3 separate regions of the Homo sapiens genome follow, and all the other regions are linked to region 3. The links are contacts of gene promoters, found by promoter capture Hi-C in blood cells and fetal thymus (Javierre and others, 2016). All regions are on one chromosome and are shown on one strand. Each heading gives the region's core, a stretch centred on a gene start or on the middle of the fragment in contact. The rest is flanking DNA. Distances are from core to core; before and after follow the strand shown. Region 1 has its middle 19 kb from the start of NAA35. Region 2 overlaps NAA35 (N-alpha-acetyltransferase 35, NatC auxiliary subunit). Region 3 holds the start of C9orf153 (chromosome 9 open reading frame 153).

Region 1 (4,728 bases), core at 275-2,774, 340 kb after region 3:
AGACACCACTTCACATCATAAAAGAGATCCATAATAAAAATTGTTGATAAGGATGTGAAGAAATTGGAACCCGCATACGTTGCTGATAGGAATGTAAGATGGCACAGCTGCTTTGAAAAGAATAGCAGTTCCTCAAAAGGCTAAAACAGGCCAGACACACTGGCTCACACCTGTAATCCCACCATCTTGGAAGGCCAAGGCAAGTGGATCACTTGAAGCCAGGAGTTCAAGACCAGTCAGAGCAACAAAGTGAGACCCAGTCTCTACAAAAACATTTTTAAAAATTAACCAGGCATGGTGGTGCACGTCTGTAGTCTTAACTATTAAAGAGGCTGAAGCAGTAGGATCACTTGAGTCCAGGAATTCAAGGCTGCAAGGCTGTGATCCCACCACTGTACTCCAGCCTGGGCAACAAAGTGAGACCCTGTCTCAAGAAAAAAGAAAAGAAAAGAAAAGAAAGCTAAACATATGTTACCCTATAACCCATCTATTCTACTCCTAGGTATATACCTGAGAGAAATAAAAACTTATTTCCACACAATGTGTACATGAATGTCCTGTTAAAAGAAAAACTTTAGACAAATTAAACTTAGAGTTTAATTGAGCAAAGAACAATTAACAAATCAGGCTCTGGGGCTGCCACATAGTCACATGACATTTATGCACAGAAAAAGAAATGATATATGGAAAACAGAAGTGAGGTAAGGAAAAAGGTGGATTGGTTACAGCTCTGCATTTGCCTTATTGGAACGTGGTTTAAACAGTTGGCTGCCTGTGATTGGCTGAAATTCAGCTTCTGTGATTGGCTCTCTGCTACTTGTTACAAGACTAGGTTACAGTCCCTTTATTCCTAAGAGCCAAAAAGTGAAAACAACCCAATGTCTATCAATTGATGATGGATAAATAAAATGTGATATATTCATACAATGGAATACTATTCAGCAATAAAGAGAAATGAAGTATTGATACATGCTATAACATGGATGATGAACCTTGAAACTCTGATGTTCAAAGGAGAAGCCAGTCACAAAAGACCACATCATTATATGATTGCATTGATGTAAAATATCTAGAGAAGGCGAACCTCTAGAGACAAAAAGTAGACCAGTGGTTGCCTAGGGCTAGGGGAGTTAGAAGGTTGGGAGTGATGGCTAAGGGGTACAGGGTTTCTTTCTGAGGTAATGAAAATGTTCTAAAATACATTGTCATGATGGGCCCACAACTCTGAAAATACTACCAGCCCTTGAACTGTACACCTTCAATAGATTAATTGCATGGTATGTGAGTTATATCTCAATATAGCTCTTTTAAAAAAGAATTTGACCAGGTGCGGTGGCTCATGCGTACAGTCCCAACACTTTGGGAAGCTGAGTGGGGAGGACTGCTTGAGCCCAAAATGTTGAGGCAGCGGTGAGCCATGATCGTGCCACTGAACTCCAGCCTGGGCAACAGGGAAAGACCCTGTCTCCAAAAAAAAAAAAAAAAAAAAAAGTAGAATTTGAGCATGGTCAGGAGTGCGAATGGGGAGTGATTGTAAGGGGTCATGAGGGATGTTTCTGGGGTAGTGATAGCTTTACAACTTTGTAAATTTACTAAAAATCATTTAACTGAAGCTGCAATACAACATTTTTTTAAAAAATTAAGCTCTCAGAGGGCTTGGGATTCCAGCTCAGAGAGGCAAGAAACATTCCTGGTTAGAACTCAAACTCCTGGAATAGTCCCAGAAGCAGAAGGTCTGGAGGGCAGCATATTTTATGGCCAACCTGGTACCATTGGAGGGATTTGTGGCCACCCACAAGGCCCAAAGAGCTGCTAGCAATAGTATCTCATAAGTTGCAGCTAACCAGTCATATGTTGATTTCAAAGTGGGTAAGTGTCAAAGAATGGGCAACTTGGGAAGATCCACATTTCTCCTGGCTCCACCTGAACCTCCAGAGCACAGGGTAATGAAAGTTTTTAGAAACCCACCAGGTGATTCTGATGTGAAGCCAAAGTTGAGAATCACTTCTCTAGAGAAAGCTGGCTGATACGGTTTGGAGGTTTGTCCCCTCAAAATTTCATGTTGAAATGTAATCCCCAATGTTAGAGGTGGGGCCTGGTGGGAGGTGTCTGGGTCATGGAGGCAAGTCCCTCATGAAATGGCTTGGTGCCATCTTCATGGTAATGAGTGAGTTCGATCAATAGATAGATAGGTAGATAGATAGACAGACGGACAGACAGACAGATAGATGATAGATAGATAGATACAGAGAGATAGATGCTCTATCTATCTCTCTAGGCTGACACACATTCACTCAAACTGATGCTCCCTTCTCTTTCAAGTCACTAGATGGAAGAAACAATTTCCTATCCTGATCAGTGTGGATCGGGTGTGACTTGGTGTGTCACACAAAACAGCAAACATCACTTGACTTCTACCTTGATTTCTGAACAGCACACAAATGAAAAAGGAAGGAATGAAGTAGCTTAGGGCAGGAGAAGATGAGAAAGACATCACAGTTTTAAGGTGAACTCATACCTCTTACATTTTAGTAAAGAGGCATTACTTATTACTATGGCTTTTAGATTAAATAGTGAATATTTGTTTATAAATTAATTTTTCCATGGGTCTACTGGACTAGGAGCCATGAAAGCAGAGCTTTTCAAACCCAAGAGTGCATCAGAATCACCTGAATGGCTTGTTAATATGTCCTGCTCCTTCTTCCCCAGATCCTGATTCAGCAGGTCCAGGGTGAGGCCCATGACTTTACACTTCTAACAAGCTGCTAGGCAATGGCTTGCTTCAGACCACACCTCAGCCCTATGCTAGAAGGCAGAATCCACCTATACCTCAACGAGTCACACATTTAATCAGTACACAACATATTCAAGACCCTACATTAGCTACTTAGAAAAAAGGGACATAATTGGTTTTTAACAGGTTCATAGTCTTGTAGAAGCAAAAATGTAAAGAATTTCTGTCTTTTGTCAACTTTAAATTTATTAGAAAACTCAAATAGGATAAAGATGAGCTATAAAATCAATAGAATTTTGACACCAAGAAGACATTTACATCCAAACCCAAGACATTTTTAATAAATGTGCTCCCTTCTTACATCAGCAAGGGTCAGTTTCTGTCATTTATAACCAGGAACCACGGAGTCTCTTTCCTTATTTTGAGGTGTGACTGAAATGGAAAGAATTTCAGTTTCTTCCATTTAGGGAAAGGTAATAATATGGGGAAGATAATAATAGCACCCATTTTTTAGCATAATTGGAAAGATGAAATAAGATCATATATAGAAAGCTTGAAATATAAAGAATTTATTTTAACAATGTCTGGCACATAATAGATGCCTAAATCTTAGCACTTGGAGCTGATTGTATGGGAAAGGGGAAGCGAGAGATTATAGCTGCTGGTGGAATTTTAAAGAATCCCTTGGCCAGGCGCAGTGGCTCATGCCTGTAATCCTAGCACATTGGCAGGCCAGGGTGGGCGGATCACTTGAGGTCAGGAGTTCGAGACCAGCCTGGCTAACATGGCAAAACCCTGTCTCTACTAAAAATACAAAAATTAGCCAGGCATAGTGGCAGGTGCCTGTAATCCCAGTTACTTGTGAGGCTGAGCCATGAGAATCGCTTGAACCTGGGAAGTGGAGGTTGCAGTGAGCTGAGATTGTGCCACTACACTCCAGCCTGGGCAACAGAGCAAGACCCTGTCTCAAAAAACAATAATAATAATATAAATAAATAAATAGTCACCTACCTGAGGCTGTGGGTGCACTCACTGATGTCCACAACAGCAAGTGGATAAGGGGACAAAATGTACTGTGTCAGACAGAGGTATAAAGAGTTCCCCCAAAGAAAGAGGTGGAAAGCACAACTCGAAAATTCAGCCACAAAACTTAGCAGACAAAAGAAAACAGAAAAACACAAAAAGAAAGTAAAATATGTATTCTGGACAACTCCTGGAAACACTGCTAACTGCAGCCTATTCCTGAGCACCAAATGCAAATTGGAATGGCACTGGGTTGCCTGCTTTTAAAAGCCATGCACAAGATCAGGCAAAGTGGCTCACACCTATAATCTCAGCACTTTGGGAGGTCGAGGCAAGCAGATTGCTTGAGCACAGGAGTTCGAGACCAGTCTGGGCAACATGGCAAAACCCTGTCTCTACAAAAAATACAAAAATTATTTGGGGCATGGTGGCACAAATATGTAGTCCCGACTACTTGTGAAACTGAGATGGGAGCATCGCTTGAGCCCAGGAGGTTGAGGCTGCAGTGAGCCGTGATCGCACCCTGAAACTCCAGCCTGGGTGACAGAGTAAGACTTGATATCGTTAAAAAAAAAAAAAGAGGCATACACCACATGAACTGAATAGATCCATAATCAAGAGGCGAAACTGGCAGAAATTATGTTTTGTGTGTGTGTGCGTGTGTGTGTTTTTTGGTTTTTTTTTGAGACGGAGTCTCGCTCTGTCACCCAGGCTGAAGTGCAGTGGTGCGATCTCGGCTCACTGCAACCTCCACCTCCTGGGTTCAAGTGATTCTCCTGCCTCAGCCTCCTGAGTACCTGGGACTACAGGCACGTGCCACCACACCCGGCTAATTTTTTATATTTTTAGTAGAGCAAGGTTTCACCGTGTTAGCCAGGATGGTCTTGATCTCCTGACCTTGTGATCCACCTGCTTCGGCCTCCCAAAGTGCTGGGATTATAGGCGTGAGCCACCGCGCCCGGCCTGGAAAT
Region 2 (4,304 bases), core at 915-3,414, 300 kb after region 3:
TCATATCTTTGTTCTCCTTAGCTCCCTTTTTGTATTATAACTTCTAAGAGACTTGAGGACAAGGGCTGTCTCTTTCATTTTTCTCTGGGAATCCCCACAACATCCAAAAACAGCACTCTGCACATACGGATATTCAATGAATGGTACTACAGAAAGAACATATGCTAAGATGAAAGCCCTTTCTTGGAGAGAACTGAATTACTTTACCCAATATATCTGTAAATGGCAACAGCATTACTTTTAAAAACTGTTTTTAAATATACACGTAGACGAAAGTACATATCACAAAATCATTTAAATACATCACAGTGAATAAGGTAGTCAATGAACTTCAGAAATTCTTTTTTCTTTCTTTTTTTTTTTTTTTTTTTGAGACAGAGTCTCGCTCTGTTGCCCAGGCTGGAGTGCAGTGGCACAATCTCAGCTCACCGCAACCTCTGCCTCCTGGGTTCAAGCAACTCTCATGCCTCAGCCTCCCAAGTAGCTGGGATTACAGATGCATGCCACCACACCTGGCTATTTTGTGTATTTTTAGTAGAGACAGTGTTTCACCATGTTGGCCAGGCTGGTCTCAAACTCCTGACCTCAGGTGATCTGCCCACCTTGGCCTCCCAAACTGCTGAGATTACAGGCATGAGCCACCGCACCTGGCCAAGGATTTCTTACATTACGAAATCTTACCTCTTCAAAAACAGCAGCTTTATTTACTTTTTCCCTTGCAATGTCACAGATTTTCAAGATTCCCAGAGCAAAAGCCTTCATAGCAGGATCTTCTATAAAGTCTGGATTATGAATGTAAAGGCACGTAAATACTGTCTGTGCCAGTGAATGGCCTTCTAACCACGTTATCTATAAAGAAACAAAAGAGTATATATTTAAGGTGATAAACTGAGTCTGCAAAGTCTAAATTGATCCTAGAGTCAAAGGCCAGAGCACCATAGACCCAAATAAGATTAATCACAAGACTTAAAAAAAAAAGACACGTTAGAATTCACTTTCATTGACTAACATTTTTCAAGTGTCTATGGGAATCATTGTCGTACATCAATCAGTTTGCAACATATTAGAGATTAATGAAATTAAGACTGCCTCTTTATGTAGCATCCAAAAGAAATCAACTCCACAATGTAGTCAATAAAAAAATCCATAAACTGGAAAATTCACAATTATAGAACTAACCAGATCCTTAGACACTCATTGAACTTTATAATCCTTACCACCACAACCCAGCCAACACCGTATCTCACCTAGATTATTTCAAGAAACTAGATAGGTTTTCCTGCCTCCCATCTCTAATTTAATACCCCCAACTAGAGATCTTTCTAAAACACTAAGATAATTGTTTTATACTATTTTACTAAGTGACCACTATATGTCTGGCACCATGTACTAGAGGTTGGGAATACCAACAATAGGCAAAATTGGGTAAGTACTGTGTCTCAAATATTATACTAGGTTATTTTCAAATATCTTATCTCATTTTTTTCCTAGCACTTTGAGAAAGGTGGTATTTTTCTCCTTTTATATGTAAAGAAACAGAGTAAGAGTTTAAATCATTTGCCCAAGTTTATAGTTATTTTTACCTTAAGCCCAAGAATTCTGCAGTAGAGTAAGACATACGCTACTGCATTGCAAAATGACAAATGTTTGTGGAAAACTCTGTAATTAAGGTGTGTATTTGGTATTAACTAGTGTGCAGAAGACAGACTTTCCAGACTAAAAACCATCTGCCTTTTAAAGTCCAAATTTTTAAATACAGTCCCAAGAGTCTCACAGAATAGTTCCTCAACTTTGGCAAAAATCCTCCCTCTGTTTATCCTTTCCTCCTTCTCCACCACTCTCCACTAATCCCACACTCCTCCTACTTGGCTCCCTGCCAGACTTAAGCAGCTATTTATGATTTTCCAAAATGAACATTTTCACATTGTCATGCCCATGCAATATACCCTCTTTGCCTACTAAACCATGAATCTTCCTGTCATACGCCTACCATTCTTTAGTACCTCACACCAGTATTAATTCCTTTCTACAGCCTTTCTTACTCTCTCAGACATAATTAACTCCTCCTCTCTGTTCCCACGGCACCGTCATAAAAGCATTTACATGTTGTCAGAATTGTTTATTCACATGTCTGTTCCCAGCAATCCTTTGACTCCTTTCTTTACTCCACCCACTAGGACTGTAAACTGCTAAAAGGTAATAAAGAAATCTTTGAGGGGGTAAAGAGACAGCTTTGGAAGATGAAGGATCAGGATTAAGATTCTGGCTAGGCCCCTCCCAAGCAATGTAATCACAGGCAGTAAGATAATACAGATATCTAATAAAGCTCATGTAAAACATAAGTGAAAACTATACATATAAAACACCTAATACAAGTACACACACTAGCAATCAATAAATGCTGAATGAACAAATGAATAAATTTTACATATTTCTAAGGAAAATGATTTAATGTCAATATAAAAAGAAAGGGATGGTCAGAAAGTGGGGCGGGGGGGAAGCAGTAGAAATGAGAATTTCTCGACAAACAGTACTTTCTAGGGAAGACATAATTCAGCATATACAAATCACTAAAAAAATTTTCTTCACAGGAGATGGCCAGTTTACTACAATTTATCCTAGATTAGAAAAAATCTCTCCAAAGCCATTGCATAATAGCTCTCTTTTGTTTCAATTCCATGCTTATTTATGAAACCTTCCAATTACAGACTTATCACTTGAGTAACTTGAGAACGAAAAGGGTATTATGAACCACGGCTATAATATTATCTTCATTGAAAAGAAAATATCCCTTCACCCAGAAAATTAGAATGTAAAATCAAGTAGATAACAAGATGAAATGCTATTACTAGGCCTGTTAATCTTATGCACATCTTTACTAGGGCAAGTATTACATTTATTTCATACTCAACATTAGTGTATAGGCTTTTAAATCACAAGATTCAGGTAAGTCACAGTTTTAAAATTAACCAATAGTCTTATTTCCATTCTTACCAAACAGCAAAAACATGTATCCATAATCCCTATCAGTTCAGGCAAGGTGAGATCTTTAATTTTAATAGTGCCATCCTAAAAAGGAGGAAGAATGTGACATATAAGCAGAAATTTTTTTAAACTTATGGTTACTATGTATAGTAGCATTTTGGATTTCTAACATTCAATATTTAAAAACAGCAATTCTAAGAAAATGCTATCTTATCATCTGATAAAACTATCACACCAAATTAACTCTGTACTCTTAAAAACAATATATCTTCTTATAAATTTTATTTTTAATTGACAAATAATAATTGTAAAAACAATATATCTTAGGTCTTCAACAAGAAATATCAAAATAAAGGCCTTTATATAAAATGAAAAGCCAAATCAACAAGTATTTTAAAAGCACAGTTCAAACCAGCTTTAAGTATTAATATAAATCATTTTAATGACCCAAAACTACTTAGAAAGAAAACTAAAGTTTTTTTTTTTGTTTTTTTTTTTTTGAGACAGAGTCTCACTCTGTCGCCCAGGCTGGAGTGCAGGTGGCGTGATCTCGGCTCAATGCAAGCTCCGCCTCCCGGGTCCACGCCATTCTCCTGCCTCAGCCTCCGGATTAGCTGGGACTACAGGCGCCTGCCACCACGCCCAGCTAATTTTTTGTATTTTTAGTAGAGACGGGGTTTCACTGTATTAGCCAAGATGGTCTTGATCTCCTGACCTCGTGATCCACCCACCTCGGCCTCCCAAAGTGCTGGGATTACAGGCATGAACCACCGCACCCAGCCGAAAACTAAAGATTTTTTAAAATGCTTCACTTAAGTTGGTTAACTATACTATTTGTAAATTTTGTTTACGATATCCATTTGCCTAGTAAATCTTTCTTTATAAAATATGTAAAATCAAACTCTATGGCAAGTATAAATGAATTTCTAAAGCAATTTTAAATTCACTACCACAAGTATTTTACTTGTGTAAATTTACTTTTATATATGAATATATTAATACACAAAATTTAACCCCCAAGCCAATTTTCCTATTTGAATATATAGTCAAATGCTTTCAAAAATTAAATTTAAAAGTACACAAATGCACAAATTTAGAGCAAGATTTTAATGAAGACCTCAATTTTCAGACTTTAACATACAAAGGTTATAACTAATTCTTGTTTATATGCTTGAGCTGCTTTGAAGGAAACAGACTTTAATACAACGTTTCATTTCATTATTAAGCACCATGTTTTAACAGGAAGTAACAAAAGATAAATGGAAACACAAAAAGTACAATGGTAACTACCTTGATAGCTTGTTCAAAATTGAGAACTT
Region 3 (4,788 bases), core at 2,289-4,788:
GCAGAAAGGATGGTACTCTATCCGTAGCCCAACCTCATCAGCCAGTGTTCTGTGACTCATTTCTATTTGTACAGGCAGTACTTGTACTGTTCATTGGTTTTGGTTCTTGTCTCTTGTACAATATTGAAAGGATCTTGGAGACAGGAACGCAATTGCTTCTTCAGTGTTCGTTTAGCATCGGGCAGGTCAGAATTATTTTTGCAAAATGGCTCCATCCTACGGCCATGTCACACCATGTCATGCAAGCCTTAGCCCTCACCAGGAAGGTTCTGTCTGTTGCACCACATTCATCCACATTCTACTCACAAACACTGGTCATTGTGTTAGGCGATTTGGTAGTGCCCCTGGGTGATGTGTAGGCCAGCAGATCTGTCGCTTAGCAGCAGACTTCAGGCTTTTCATGATCAGTTATAAGCCCACTCTTCCACATCAGGATGCTAAATTGAATGAATCAGGCCATGAGGACAGAGGCCTGCTGTGCTTCATTGTTGCAGGGCGCCTCCCAGCCCTCTGTCACCGGACCCACCAGAATGATTTTTTTTTTCTCAAACAGGAAAGGGTTGGGAACAATCCCTACAAGATCAGATGTCCCTAAGATTTCCAGTATTTCCTAGGTTTCACTCAGCAGGAAATACCTCAAAAAAAAAATGGCCTTTCTTGTCATGTTTTGATACCTGAGAAATCAGGAAATGGAAAAGCCTGTGCTAAGCTGAGCTGTAAGCAACATCAGTGTCTCATTTGAGCCTTAGAGCAGACGTGGCATGGGCCAGACACAGCATCGACCCAGAATAAACCCAAATACAGCTCACCTGAGCTCAGTGCAGGCTGGGAGGCTGGCCTGGAAAGGTGTAGGTTTGGGGTGAGATATGCCTGGATTTGAATCATGGTTCCTGTCATTTTGTAGCCATGTAACCTTCTGTAAAACAGTCTCAGAATTTGGGGGGATGTGATGAGCTAACTACACATAAATGGCATCCTGCTAAGGGTAGACGTTTCATACGTTGTAATTCTTGTCCCTTTTAGCCATTTTCTTGTGCAAAAAGGGATAATATGTTAATGGATTATCAATCAAAGCAAGAGCTTAGGGAAAGAGTTTCAACACATTTAGGGAGTTATTGTCCCATATTCAAATCTGGGGGAAATTTGCTGTATTTCCTTCAAATAAAAGACCACAGTAACTTCTTTGAAAAGAACCATAAATTTCAAATATAAACATTCGGAGAAATTTCATTCTCTTAGTAGCTGATTAACTATAGACAAACCTGCCTTAATTGAGGAGCTGTTTTGAAAGCTCATTCCCCAGTAGGAACTCAATCTCCTGGTCCCAGGTGGGTCTCATCAGACAAGAGATGGAGGAGAGAGGGAGGTGCACCCTAGCCTCAGCCTCTATTGAAATACAGAGCCATGTGGTGGTTACATCACTGTGGACTCCCATCCTCCCTTGCTGCTGTGCAGTGTTCAGGGAAGGCTTCATTTCACACCAACCTTTAGCGGGGCAAGGGCTCTGTACCAGCGGTACTCAGCTTAAAACTAGCCTACTTTGAGGGCCTTGATGGGTTACTGCTTTTACTTCCACTAGCTAGTGATTCCGAAACTTTTCATGATGAAGTGCCCATTTATTGGGCCAGGTGTGTTGGCTCAAGCCTGTAATCCCAGCACTTTGGGAGGCAAAAGTGGGCAGATCACCTGATCCCAGGAGTTCAAGACCAGCCTGGGCAACGTGGTAAAACGCCGTCTCTACAAAAAATACAAAAATTAGCTGGTCATGGTGGTACATGCCTGTAGTCCCCGTTGCTCAGGAGACCAAGGTGAGAGGATCACTTTAGCCCAGGAGGTAGAGGTTGCAGTGAGCCAAGATCGTACTACTGCACTCCAGCCTGGATGACAGAGCAAGACCCTGTCTCAAAAAAAAAAAGAATAAAAAATAAAGTACTCATTTTTTGTTCTCCATGGATTCTATGTCTTGAAGCAGTCCTCAAACTTTAAGGTGCAAATAAGTCACCTGGGGGTCTTGTTAAAAAGCAGATTCTTGGCCGGGCGCAGTAGGTAGCTCACGCCTGTAATCCAGCACTTTGGGAGGCTGAGGCGAGTGGATCACTTGAGGTCAGGAGTTCGAGACCAGCCTGGCCAACATGGTGAAACCCCATCTCTACTAAAAATACACAAAAATTAGCCAGACATAGTGGTGGGCGCCTCTAGTCCCAGCTACTCAGGAGGCTGAGGCAGGAGAATCACTTGAACCTGGGAGGTGGGGAGGTTGCAGTGACATGAGATGGCACCACTGCATTCCAGCCTGGGTGACAGAGCAAAACTGTCTCAAAAAAAAAAAAAAAGCAGATTCTGTAACAAAGGTCCAGGGCAGAGCCTGAGATTCTGCATTAGTAGCAAAGGCCCAAGTGAAGCCAGTGCTGTTGCTCTGCAGAACACCTTTGAATGGCAGGCTTTTGAAATATTTTCTCATTGGAAGAATCTTCTGTATTTATTAAATTCTGCTTAAAATTATTAACTTTCTTGTATATCCATGTTCATAACAGCATTATTCACAATAGCCAAAAGGTAGGAACAACCCAGGTGTCCATTGACAGGGGACAGGGGGTGAGAAATTTATTTCATGGACACAGATTCAGGTGGAAAAGATGAAAAAGCTCTGGAGATGGAAGGCAGTGCAGGTGGCACAACAATGTGAATGTACTGAATGCCACAGAACTGTGTACCTAAAACGGCTTAACACGGTAAGCTTCATGTTATGGATATGTTGCCACGGTGTTCACAAGTTATTAACTCAATCAGACTATTTAAATGCCCAGTAGATTGCATTCTGGGGAAATGGCTGTTTCAGGAAAATTTTCAGTGATTGCCACAGGGACCTCCCATGGGTGGGGAATGGAGTCTGGAGCACGGCTGCATGGCTCATGGAGAGAATTTGCACAGCCAGGTAGCCCCTGGTCCACTTCTACCCATATCTGGCCAGGTGCAAAGAGCATAGCTGTACCTTCTATTATCTCTCTCAATTTCTTATTTGCACTTTGCCCATGTCTATAGAAGGAAAAACTTGACTGATTAAAAATTACATTCACGGCACCTGTAGTCCCAGCTACTCAAGAGGCTGAGGCAGGAGAATGGCGTGAACCCGGGAGGCGGAGCTTGCAGTGAGCTGAGATCGTGCCACTGCACTCCAGCCTGGGCGACAGAGTGAGACTCCATCTCAAAAAAAAAAAAAAATTATACTCACGCCAGCCTGGGCAACATGGCGAAACCCCATCTCTAGAGAAAAATACATAAATTAGCCAGGCGTGGTGGCGTGCGCCCGGGGTCCCAGCCACAAGCTGAGGCAGAAAAAAAAGTAGCTACTCAGCTACTCAATGTTCACTCTTTAAAAATGCTTTTCCATCATCCTCCACCGTCTCCCACCCCCCACCAAGCAGCAAGATAATTCCCCATCGCTTAGCATCATATAGCTGCTTATGTGACCTTGAGAATGTCCACATGTCACAATGGACAGTCACTTAACACTAAGCAATGACACATGCTAGGAGTGGGGCTGGGCCTTGGGGCTGCTGGATGAATGAGACCCAGCCTCTGCCCTGGGAGTGCAGAGACTCAAGACAGATATGACCACGTGAAGAGACAACTGTAAAACAAGTGGTAAGTGCATCTACAGCCATAGCCACGGGGCACTGTGAGACCACAGAGCAGTGAAAACTAAGCCAGTCTAGGCTTGGCAAGGAGAGATGGAGTGAGGTGGGCAGTGGCTAAGGTGGGAAGACCAGAGCTGGGAGGTGAGATGGGATTTGGGTTTATCTTTACCAATAAGGATGAGGAGCCTGTTTCATCTTCCTCCAGGCAGGTCACAGAAGCTGGAACCAGTTGATCGGGCCGAGCCTGCAGACTCCCTCATCCTTTCCGGCCTTCAACACTGATAGCTCTGCTCTCTCTCCCCAACCTCAGTGCCTTCATCCTCCCCTGTGTTCCCATGGATGCTTGGTCCTGACTTTGCACCTCTCCCTCACACCCAGTGTCCTTTGTTTTTCCTCTGCCACTTGGGAGGCTGATGGGAGGATCACCTGAGCCTGGGAGGTTGAGGCTGCAGTGACCTGTGTTCACGCCACTGCACTCCAGCTGGGGTGACAGAATGAGAGCCTATCTCAAAGAAAAAAAAAAAACACTGCTCTGTATGATACTATCAAAGTGGATATATGTAATTGCACATTGTGAAATCTCATAGAATGCACAACACCAAGAATGGACCGTAATGTAAACTGTGAAGTATGGGCTTTAGTTAGTAACCATGCATTGATACCGGCTCATCAAGTATAACAAACGTACCACACAAACATAAGTAGTAAAAAAAAAAGGGGAAAGCTGTGTGTATGGTGCAGAGAAGGGGGGTTGTGGGAACATTGTACTTTCTAACCAATTCTAAAATTGCTCTAAAATTTAAGTATATTAATATTTTTAAAAAAAGTTTCGTTAAATTAGCAATATAATAGTTGCTTACCCAAGAAAATTCAGGTTTTCAAATATTGCGTTTTAAAAGCAATTATTTCCGGATGTGAGGGTGATCTGGCTGCAACATCTGTCACCCCACTGATGGCCAGGGTTAATTTGTCTGATCTGGCTGGCTAGGTGGATGTCTCCTTCCTCCCTCATCCGTCCACATGCGTCCTTCCAGACGCTGCGGACAACCTTCCCCAACAGAGGAGGGCCGTTCTTTGGGCAAGGGTATATGAGTAGCTGCACTCCCCTGCTAGAACCTCCAAACAAGCTCTCTAAAAGTAATTACTTCAA

Evidence for each region. The method cuts DNA at HindIII sites, captures the fragments that hold promoters and counts their contacts. A CHiCAGO score of 5 or more calls a contact.
Region 1: a contact is called between a fragment that was not itself captured here and the fragment with the promoter of C9orf153 in region 3, in 1 of 17 cell types (naive CD8 T cells). The highest score is 5.3, in naive CD8 T cells.
Region 2: a contact is called between a fragment that was not itself captured here and the fragment with the promoter of C9orf153 in region 3, in 1 of 17 cell types (total B cells). The highest score is 5.2, in total B cells.

The regions. Positions count from the first base shown.
Region 1 is chr9:85,920,072-85,924,799 of GRCh38, reverse strand. No RefSeq gene overlaps it. Among named protein-coding and RNA genes, the nearest start is that of NAA35, 19 kb to the left of the region's middle. The HindIII fragment of the contact is 3,528 bases long and covers 1-3,288 here.
Region 2 is chr9:85,958,558-85,962,861 of GRCh38, reverse strand. It overlaps NAA35 (N-alpha-acetyltransferase 35, NatC auxiliary subunit), which reads right to left. Exons shown (of 23, transcript NM_024635.4): 4 at 4,276-4,304; 5 at 2,995-3,069; 6 at 682-849. Among named protein-coding and RNA genes, the nearest start is that of NAA35, 20 kb to the right of the region's middle. The HindIII fragment of the contact is 4,550 bases long and covers 1-4,304 here.
Region 3 is chr9:86,258,407-86,263,194 of GRCh38, reverse strand. It overlaps C9orf153 (chromosome 9 open reading frame 153), which reads left to right and starts at 3,538. Exons shown (of 4, transcript NM_001276366.4): 1 at 3,538-3,645. It also overlaps the pseudogene RN7SKP264. The HindIII fragment of the contact is 3,437 bases long and covers 2,740-4,788 here.